2 separate regions of the Homo sapiens genome follow, and region 1 is linked to region 2. The links are contacts of gene promoters, found by promoter capture Hi-C in human tissues and cell types (Jung and others, 2019). All regions are on one chromosome and are shown on one strand. Each heading gives the region's core, a stretch centred on a gene start or on the middle of the fragment in contact. The rest is flanking DNA. Distances are from core to core; before and after follow the strand shown. Region 1 overlaps TANGO2 (transport and golgi organization 2 homolog). Region 2 holds the start of CDC45 (cell division cycle 45).

Region 1 (4,894 bases), core at 1,925-4,424, 570 kb before region 2:
GGAGTTCAAGACCAGCCTGACCAACATGGAGAAACACCATTTCTATTAAAGATACAAAATTAGCCAGGCGTGGTGGTGCATGCCTGTAATCCCAACTACTTAGGAGGCTGAGGCAGCCTATAATCCCAGCTACTCGGGGGGCTGAGGCAGGGGAATTGCTTGAACCCGGGAGGTGGAGGTTGCAGTGAGCCGAGATCACACCATTGCACTCTCAGCGAAACTCTGTCTCAAAAAAAAAAAAAAAACCCAACAAAACTGTATTTGCAACCAGCAGGATCATATATGAAGAAAACCCAAAAGGAATACCAAAACCGATGTATTAGAACTAATAAGTAAATGCTAGCAAGAACTGGAAAGTGAGCATTTAAATATACCATTTATAACAGCATTTTTAAAATCCTTAGTGTGATTAAAAAAAAAAAAAAAAGCCGGGTGCAGTGGCTCACGCCTGTAATCCCAGCACTTTGGGAGGCCAAGGCGGGCGGATCACGAGGTCAGGAGTTCGAGACCAGCCTGGCCAATATGATGAAACCCCATCTCTACTAAAAATACAAAAATTAGCTGGGCATGGTGGCAGGCACCTGTAGTTCCAGCTACTCGGGAGGCTGAGACAGGAGAATTGCTGGAACCCGGGAGGTGGAGGTTGCAATGAGCAGAGATGGCGCCATTGCACTCTAGCCTGGGCAACAGACCAAGACTCCGTCTCAAAAAAAAAAAAAAAAAAAAAAACCACCAGGAAAATATTTAATGAAAAATGAGTGACAAAGACTGAAAACTCCAGGGCACTGTTGAGGGTCTCAAGTTGAGCTGACCTGATTTAAGGAGAGACATGCATATTCACTGAAAGATTCAATAGTGTTTTTTTGTTTGTTTTTGTTTTTTAGAGTCTTGCTCTGTCGCCTAGGCTGGAGTGCAGTGGTGTGATCTCAGTTCACTGCAAGCTCCGCCTCCCGGGTTCAGGCCATTCTCCTGCCTCAGCCTCCCAAGTAGCTGGGACTACAGGTGCCCACCACCACACCTAGCTAATTTTTTCATATTTTTTTAGTAGAGACAGGGTTTCACCGTGTTAGCCAAGATGGTCTCGGTCTCCTGATCTCATGATCGGCCCGCCTCGGCCTTCCAAAGTGCTGGAATTACAGGCGTGAGCCACCGTGCCCAGCCTCAACAGTGTTTCTTCTTGTTATTATTTGTTTCACTGGGTACTTCTTAGACAACTCAGTATTGTTAAGGTGACACTTCTCCCCACATGACCCATAGATTCAAAACCTGCCCAGTCAAAATCCCAGGGGGCTTTTCGTTTTATAGCAATTAACAGACTGGCTGAAATATCTATGCATATGCAAAGGAACTGGGATGGCCAAAATAGTCCCGAAAAAGAAGGCAGACCCACATTGCCTGATTTCTTTTTTCTTTTTTTTTTTTTTTTTGAGACAGAGTTTCGCTCTTGTTACCCAGGCTGGAGTGCAATGGCGTGATCTCAGCTCACCGCAACCTCCGCCTCCCGGGTTCAAGTGATTCTCCTGCCTCAGCCTCCCGAGTAGCTGGGATTACAGGCATGGACCACCACACCCAGCTAATTTTGTATTTTTAGTAGAGACGGGGTTTCTCCATGTTGGTCAGGCTGGTCTTGAACTCCCAACCTCAGGTGATCTGCCCACCTCGGTCTCCCAAAGTGCTGGGATTACAGGTGTGAGCCACAGTGCTCAGCCTGATTTCAAGACTTACTAAAAAGCAGCAGCACTCATAGACTGCATGGTGTTGGCATCAAGACAGATACATAGATCAATGGGATACAACAGAGTCAGGAATAGACCCACACATATATGTTCAACTGATGTACAACCAAGTTGCCATAGTAATGAACTAGGCAAAAGATAATCCATTTAATAAATGATGCTGGAACAACTAGAGAGATTTGGGGGTTGGAGGCAGTAAATCTCAACCCCTACCTCACACCATGTACAAAACCTTGAGATAAATCATAGACCAAACATAAAAACAAAAATTAGGCTTCTAGAAGCAAATGGAGGAAAATATTGTTATATATTTTCCTCTGGGTAGGCAAAGACTTTTTGGATAAGGCACAAAAAGAACAACTCATAAAAGATAAGATAAACTGTACTTTGTTAAAATGAAATATTCTGGCCGGGCGCAGTGGCTCACGCCTGTAATCCTACCACTTTGGGAGGCCAAGGCAGGCAGATCAAGAGGTCAAGAGATTGAGCCCATCCTGGCCAACATGGTGAAACCCCATCTCTACTAAAAATACAAAAATTAGCTGGGCATGGTGGTGCATGCTTGTAGTCCCAGCTACTCAGGAGGCTGAGGCAGAAGAATCACTTGAACCTGGGAGGCGGAGGTTGCAGTGAGCTGAGATCGCACCACTGTACTCCAGCCTGGCAACAGAGTAAGACTCCACCCACTCAAAAGAAAAAAAAAAAATTCTGCTCACCATAAGCTATCATTAAGGAAATGAGTAGGCACAAAGGACTCATATCCAGAATGGGTAAATAACTCTTACAAATCAATAATTAAAACAAGAACAAAACTTCCAAATTGCCCAAGCAACAAGGACCAGATTTACCCTCCTGCATAAAACAACCAAAAAATAAATAAATAAATAAAACTCAAGAAACAATGGTGTATTTATTAGTCCATTCTCATGCTGCTACAAGGACATACCCGAGACTGGGTAATTTATAAAGGAAAGATATGTGACTCATAGTTCAGCATGGCTGGGGAGGCCTCAGGAAACTTACAATCATGGCAGAAGGGGAAGCAAACATGTCCTTCTTCACATGGTGGCAGGAAGGAGAAGTTCCAAGCAAAGCAGGAAAAGCCCCTTATAAAACCATCAGATCTTGGCTGGGAGCGGCAGCTCATGCCTGTAATGTCAGCACTTCGGAAGGCCGAGGCAGGCGGATCACCTGAGGTCAGGAGTTCGAGACCAGCCTGGCCAACATGGTGAAACCCCATCTCTACTAAAAATACAAAAATTAGCTGGGCGTGGTGGCAAGCGGCTGTAATTCCAGCTACTCAGGAGGCTGAGGCAGGAGAATTGCTTGAACCTGGGAGGTGGAGGTTGCAGTGAGCCGAGATCGCACCATTGCACTCCAGCCTGGGTAACAAGAGCGAAACTCAGTCTCAAAAAAAAAAAAACAAAACACTATCAGATCTCATGAGAACTCACTATCATGAGAATAGCAGCATGGGGGTAATGCCCCATGATTCAATTACCTCCCACTGGGTCTCTCCCAGGACATGTGGGGATTTGGGGAACTATAATTCAAGATGAGATTTGGGTGGAGACACAGCCAAACCATATCAAATGGGTTTTACAAAAAAGGATATGACAGACAGGAAACAAAGTGAGCCCATGATTAGAGAGGCTCCAGGACCCAGCCCAGGGAGTGGGGGGACCAGGCCGAATTCAGCAGACTCCCTGAGCTGAGAAGAGGGGCTTAGTGTTTGGGGAAACTAAGACAACCAGAGTTCATGGCTGCCATAGTTTGGATGTTTGTCCCCCAGACCTCATGTTAAAATCTGATCCCCGGGCTGGGTGAGGTGGCTCACGCCTCTAATCTCAGCATTTTGGGAGGCTGAGGCGGGTGGATTGCCTGAGGTCAAGAGTTCGAGACCAGCCTGACCAACATGGTGAAACCCCGTCTCTACTAAAAACACAAAAAATTAGCTGGGCATGGTGGCAGGCGCCTGTAATCCCAGCTACTCAGGAGGCTGAGGCAGGAGAATTGCTTGAACCTTGGAGGCGGAGCTTGTGGTGAGCCGAGATCGTGCCATTGCACTCCAGCCTGGGCAACAAGAGTGAAACTCTGTCTCAAAAAAAAAAAAAAAAAACAAACAAACCAAAAAACTGATCCCCAGTGTTGGAGGTGGGGTCTAATGGGAGACAGATCTACCTAATGGCAGATCCTTCATGAACGGCTTGGTGTTGTCCTCACAGTGATGAGTTCTAGCTCTATTAGTTCCTTTGAGAACTGGTTGTTTAAAAGAGCGTGGCGCCTCCTCCCTCTCTCTGGCTTCCTCCCTCCGTGTGTGATCTGCACATACCACCTCCCCTTCCCCTTCCACCATCAGTAGAAGCTTCCTGAGGCCTGCATCAGAAGCAGATGCTGACACTGTGCTTCAGGTCCCCTGTAGAACTCTAAGCCAAATAAACCTCTTTTCTTTATAAATTACCCAGCCTTGTGGATCACTTGAGGTCAGGAGTTTGAGACCAGCCCAGCCAACCTGGTGAAACCCCATCTCTACTAAAAATACAAAAATTGGGCTGGGGGAAGGATAGCGTTAGGAGAAATACCCAATGTAAATGATGAGTTGATGGGTGCAGCAAACCAACATGGCACATGTATGTATACCTATGTAACAAACCTGCACGTTCTGCACATGTACCCTAGAACTTAAAGAATAATAATAAAAAAATACAAAAATACAAAAATTAGCAGGGTGTGGTGGCAGGTGCCTGTAATCCCAGCTACTCAGGAGGCTGAGGCAGGAGAATCACTTGAACCTGGGAGGTGGAGGTTGCAGTGAGCCAAGGTCGCACCATTGCACTCCAGCCTAAGCGACAGAGCAAGACTCTGTCTCAAAAAAAAAAAAAAAAAAAAAATTACCCAGCCTTGGCTGGGCACCATGGCTTATTATCTGTAATCCCAGCACTTTCGGAGGCCAAGAAAGGAGGGTCACTTCAGGCCAGGACTTTGAAACCAGCTTGTGCAACACAGCAAGGCTTTGTCGCTACAAATTATTTTTAAAAATTAGCTGGGCATGGTGATGTGCACTTGTAGTCCCAGCTACTAGGGAGGCTGAGGTGGGAGGATCACTTGAGGCCAGGAGTTAGAGGCTGCAGTGAGACAGGATTGTGCCACTGCACTCC
Region 2 (5,398 bases), core at 852-3,351:
TTAAGTTGGAAACCAGGATGCATTTTCTCAGAGAAATAACATAAAATAGTAGTGTATTCTAAAATAATTTTAACTAATTCCAGCACTTTGGGAGGCTGAGGCAGGCGGATCACTTGAGGTCAGGAGTTCGAGACCAGCCTGGCCAATGTGGCGAAACCCCGTCTCTACTAGAAATACAAAAATTAGCCAGGCGTGGTGGTGGGCACTTGTAATCCCAGCTAGTTAGGAGGCTGAGGCAGGAGAATCGCTTGAACCCAGAAGGCGGAGGTTGCAGTGAGCCAAGATTGCACCATGACACTCCAGCCTGAGTGACAAAGCGAGGTTCCGTCTCAAAAATAAATAAATAAAGGCTGGGCGTGGTGGCTCATACCTGTAATCCCAGCACTTTCGGAGGTGGGCAGATCACAAAGTCAGGAGATCAAGACCATCCTGACTAACATGGTGAAACTCCGTCTCTACTAAAAATACAAAAACATTAGCCAGGTGTGGTGGCGGGTGCCTGTAGTCCCAGCTACTCAGGAGGCTGAGGCAGAAGAATGGCATGAACCCAGGAGACACAGCTTGCAGTGAGCCGAGATCGTGCCACTGCACTCCAGCCTGGGCGACACAGCGAGACTCCGTTTCAAAAAAAATAAAAAATAAAAAAATAAACCAAAATAAAATAAAATAATTTTAACTAGACCATATTAAAAACTGCTAGATTCCAAGCACCTTACAATCAAATTTCTGCAAAACAAGTTAAAACAAGTTCAAAGTTGGGGCTATCCACATTCATTATCTTTTTTTGCTGTCAATTTTGCTTCTACAACTTGGGCGTGGTAAGTCACCAGTAAATACAGCATGTTTTTCTCTTCCATATTGCCTAATGTAGCTGATACTTAAATACACGCTTAATCTATCGTGGAAATAGAATGCTGTGTCAAGAAATTACAATTGAGTAAAAAGCCACGTTATTCTAAAACGCATCTTCAATACCTGTTCTTTATGCTCAAGAAATGCAGTTTCAAGTTCTTGCCACCCAGAAACTGGAACCAGCGTATATTGCACGTGGTCACACTGGAACAAGGCCTGGAGAGAGAGTGTTTTCAAAGCCTATCTTATTTAGGACATTAGCAATTTACCTTGAAAAGAAACTGAGGAAGATTAGACGGGTTGAGAGACAAAAGACACGGGATAACATTAAAGCTAGTGAAATGCTTACGGGAAAAGCTAGGTGCTAGGGATATGAGCGTTTACCATACCATTCTGTGAATTTTGCAAATTACCAAAGTAAAACATCGGGGAGAAATGCCGATTTAACTTCCAGGCCTTCTGAAAAGTTCCTGATCCAAGGGCCTGACCAAAACAACGTAAATACTATGCCCTATTCAAAACCAAACTAACGATCTTCCCTAATAGACTAGGGGCTCCCATATTCCCAGCAACACCTGTGACACGACTATACCCACAGTTGTCACAGATTCCTCTCTCTCAAATCCCCCATTTGAGAGGCCACGACAGATCCAAAGTTTCCCCCAAATGCAACTGCTGTGTTCACCTATTAATATTAATAGCTTATTGCAAAAATACAAACTAGTCTCTTTACCTTTTACTTAATCCTTTATCCCACCCCACACCGTTGGGACAGGGAGGCAACCTCTCCTCCGAGTCTCTCTCCTCTCACTTGCTGTTCACCTCCTGCCCTGCTCCCTCTCCCACCCTAAGCCCTCAGCACCCATCCTGACACTCTGCCCGCCCTGCGCCCCCACGCAGCACCCTCACCTCGCGCGCCGGCCCCGCCCTCCTAGGGTCCGCAGAACTCACCTGAAGGATCTTGCACGCACACAGAGCATCCACGTCCGAGGCCACGAAGAGAAGGACCCTCTATCGGGGAAGAGCAGACCGGCTGAACACGGCGACCCGAACCCCGGCCCTCCCCTGCCTCCCGGTCACCCACGGTCGCTCCCCCTCATCCCTTCCCCACCGGCAAGGCCTCGGCGGGGGTCCCGGACTGGGCGTCACCTGGCTCTGGACCACCTCGTAGAACTCTTTGCGGAAATCGGACACGAACATAGCCACGGCGGCCGGACGCCTGGCGCTCGCGCTGAGGTACCAAGAGCCCGGCGGCGGTCAAGACTCCCGCCAAATCACGGCTCCTCCGATTGGTCCAGGGATCACCAACCAATAGCTTCTTAGTTCCCAGCCTTCCTTTCTTTCTGATTGGGCCACATTGGAGGCGGCCATTAGCGCTCTGCCATTCACGGCCAGAAAACTCCAGCCCGCCCCCAAAGAAGCGTCACCTCTGAGGCCGAACGCAAACACTGTTGCCCCCTTCAACTCTGACTCGCTTTTACCCAGAAAAGCGACGCTGGGCGGACATCTTTACTTTGGGAAGAGAAGCCTACTGCCTCCCACTGGGAACCCTCAGGGAAAGTATACTTCTAACCATACATTAAACTCAGTCACATACCCAATGGGGCAGCATTTACGTTTGCAATAGGTTTTTGGTGTGGTTTGAAGAAGGATTTGTAGCTTAGTTCCGCCCGAGTCCTCGATGGCTGAAGCAGAGGCAGTCTGGGTAGTGCATTGTGGGTAGTGTAGTCGTAAGGACAATGGGCCCTACTAAATTCGTCTGGAGGGGAATACTGTCAACACGTAATTTAAAATAACGTTTAAAAATACCTATAAAAGGGGAAATAAATCACGAAAGGGCATTTTAATGCTTCTACTGAGGGTGTTTTAGAGCCTAGCGTCTTCGCCTGGCCTTTTCTCTTTTGCAGCCGACGCTTTGTCCCGGGCACCCCCCCTCCGGGTCTCGGGTCCGGCACTTCCGGTGAGCCTCTGGGGCGTACCGGCTTGGCGCGGCGGCAGCGGCAGCGGCGGCTGGGAGAGCGGTCGGCGGGGTTTCTTCGTTGCATTGCCTGAGAGGAGCGGAGTCTGCCAGGTGGTGTCCATCATGGTAAGCGCTGACGGGCAGCGGGCGGGGGCTGGGCCTTGGCCCGGGGCCTGAGGTAGGGCCCGGCGGGGCAGGGCGGGGCGGGACGGCGGCGGAGGTGCCGAGTCACCCGGGCCTGAGTCCGGCCTGCAGGCTCATCGGCCGCACCGGGCACAAGCAGGACCCTTGACCACTAACCGCCTGTGGTCGCGTCCGCCGGTCCTGAACGTGGCTCGCATTCTGTCTCAGCCGGACTTGCCCTCCTTGACGAAAGAAAGGAAGGTTTGTGTCCATTCACGGGTTTCCCAAGTGCTGGACGCGCAACAGGTTTCCATAAACCCAAAGTTAGTTGCAAGGTTGCTGGGGATGGGAACAGAATCAGGGCGCTCCCCAGGGAGAATCCGTAGTGGGCATCCCCCGCTCTTGGGGGACACCCAGCTCTTGCCCCAGCTCCGTGAGCTCCGTGCCTACGGGTTCGTGCCTTCGAATCTGTACAGCGGTGTTGTGTTCGGTAATGATAACGATGGAAGCTAATACCTGCTGGTACATTTCCTGTTACACAGCTTTTAACACCTGTACTCCCTCATCGCGGCTTATTTCTTTTAATCCCTACAATCCCTTTGGAAGCAAGGATGATGATGATTTTAAACATGAGAAAACTAACGTTTACAGAGGTACTTTATTCGAGTCACAGAAGTAGGGACTGGAGAGTTGAAGCCAAGTCTGTCTGGCTGCAAAGCACTCTACGGTATTGTCTTCCTGTCACCTGTTTATTTTAGTAAAGACAAGGAATGATTGTTAGATTTTATCCCAAGTGTGTCACTGTCAAACCCTGGCTTATTTCTATTCTTGAGTTCATCCACTCAAGAATACCTGATATGTTCCAGGCAGTGTGCTAGGTCTCGGGATTGAAAAGGAAAGTGAGAGATGGGATCGGGAGCAGCAAAGAAGGGGCAGAAGGTCGGGTTCATGGGTAAACTGCAGGCAGGTTGTTAAGTATGTTGCCCCTTTGTGCGGATTTACCTTTTATATTCAAAGAGAAGAAATGGCTTACATAGGTTGGCTAGTGAGAAGCACTCAAGGGAAGCAAGCCCCTACCCTGTTCTGGCCTTGTTCACCCAGAAACGCTATTTCCTGTGTTATGGTTCTGGCCAAGATTTAGCTGAACAGTTATGCTGCTTAAAAGAAGAAAGACAAAAGATTGGAAATTACTGTGTTAGAGTGCCAGGGAGTAAAGAACCATCCCAGATTTTAGGCGGGAACATGCTATGTTTGCATTTTGGGAGATGGCTAATTCAGCTTGCTAATTTTGGAGTTGCTAGTAAACTGCTTTGTCAGTAGGTGGCATTCCTTCTACTAAATATATATTTGGAATCAAGTCAAGAAATTTTCTCTAATACAGATTTTTTTTTAGTTGTGGTTAAAAAAACCAAATTTTTATCATCTTAACCGTTTTTCAGTCTATAGTTCAATAGTGTTGAGTACATTCACGAGCAACAGATTTTCAGAACTTTTTCATCTTGCAAAAGTGAAACTCTACTCACATTAAACAATAGCTCTCCATTTTCTGCTCCTCACAGCCCCTGTCAATCTCTGTTCCACTTTGTCTCCATGAATTTGCCTACTCTAGGTACTTCCTAGAAGCGGACTCATAAAATATAAGTCCTTTTATGACTGACTTACTTCACTTGGCATGATATCCTCAAGGTTCATCCATGTGACAGGATTTCTTTCCTTTTAAAAGCTGAATAATATTTCATTGTATGTATATACCATACCACAATTTGTTTATTCATTCATCTGTCATTGGACACTTGAGTTGCTTCCACCTTTTAGCTATTATGAATAATTGTGCTATGAATACGGGGTGTACAAAAATCTCTTCTTGATTCTGCCTCCAGTTCTTTTGAATATATATCCTCCTGTGAGATTTTAGGTGGTTTCAGTTACCCGAGGTCAACCATGGTCCAAAAATATTAAAATAGAAACCACATTCACATAACTTTTATTACAGTATATTGTTGTAATTGTTTTATTATTAATTGTTAATCTCTTACTGTGCCTAATTTATAAATTAAACTTTTTTTTTTTTTTTTTTTTGAGATGGAGTCTTGCTCTGTTGCCCAGGCTGGAGTGCAGTGGCACGATCTCGGCTCACTGCAACTTCCACCTCCTGGGTTCAAGCGATTCTTCTGCCTCAGCCTCCTGAGTAGCTGGGATTACAGGCGTGTACCACCACGCCCGGCTAATTTTTGTATTTTTAGTAGAGAGAGGGTTTCACTATGTTGGCCAGGCTGGTCTCAAACTCCTGACCTCAGGTAATCCACCTGCCTCTGCCTCCCAAAGTGCTGGGATTATAGGCGTGAGCCACCGCACCCAGCCTATAAATTAAACTTTATTGTAGATATGTATAAGAAAATTGTAGATATGTATAAGAAAAAACATAGTATGTATAGATTTCAGTATTATCTGTGGTTTCAGGCG

What was found. Contacts are between HindIII fragments. The study calls those that stand out against the background at their distance.
Region 1: a contact is called between a fragment that was not itself captured here and the fragment with the promoter of CDC45 in region 2, in 1 of the 25 tissues and cell types used here (lymphoblastoid cells).

The regions. Positions count from the first base shown.
Region 1 is chr22:20,046,194-20,051,087 of GRCh38, reverse strand. All of the region lies in intron 3 of TANGO2 (transport and golgi organization 2 homolog), which reads right to left. Among named protein-coding and RNA genes, the nearest start is that of MIR185, 16 kb to the right of the region's middle. The HindIII fragment of the contact is 7,778 bases long and covers 1-4,894 here.
Region 2 is chr22:19,476,623-19,482,020 of GRCh38, reverse strand. CDC45 (cell division cycle 45) reads right to left here and starts at 2,101. Exons shown (of 19, transcript NM_003504.5): 1 at 2,002-2,101; 2 at 1,804-1,863; 3 at 976-1,068. The coding sequence starts at 2,052. It overlaps UFD1 (ubiquitin recognition factor in ER associated degradation 1), which reads left to right and starts at 2,828. Exons shown (of 12, transcript NM_005659.7): 1 at 2,828-2,938. The coding sequence starts at 2,936. RefSeq lists silencers at 2,152-2,201, 2,992-3,061 and an enhancer at 2,292-2,591. The HindIII fragment of the contact is 17,956 bases long and covers 1-5,398 here.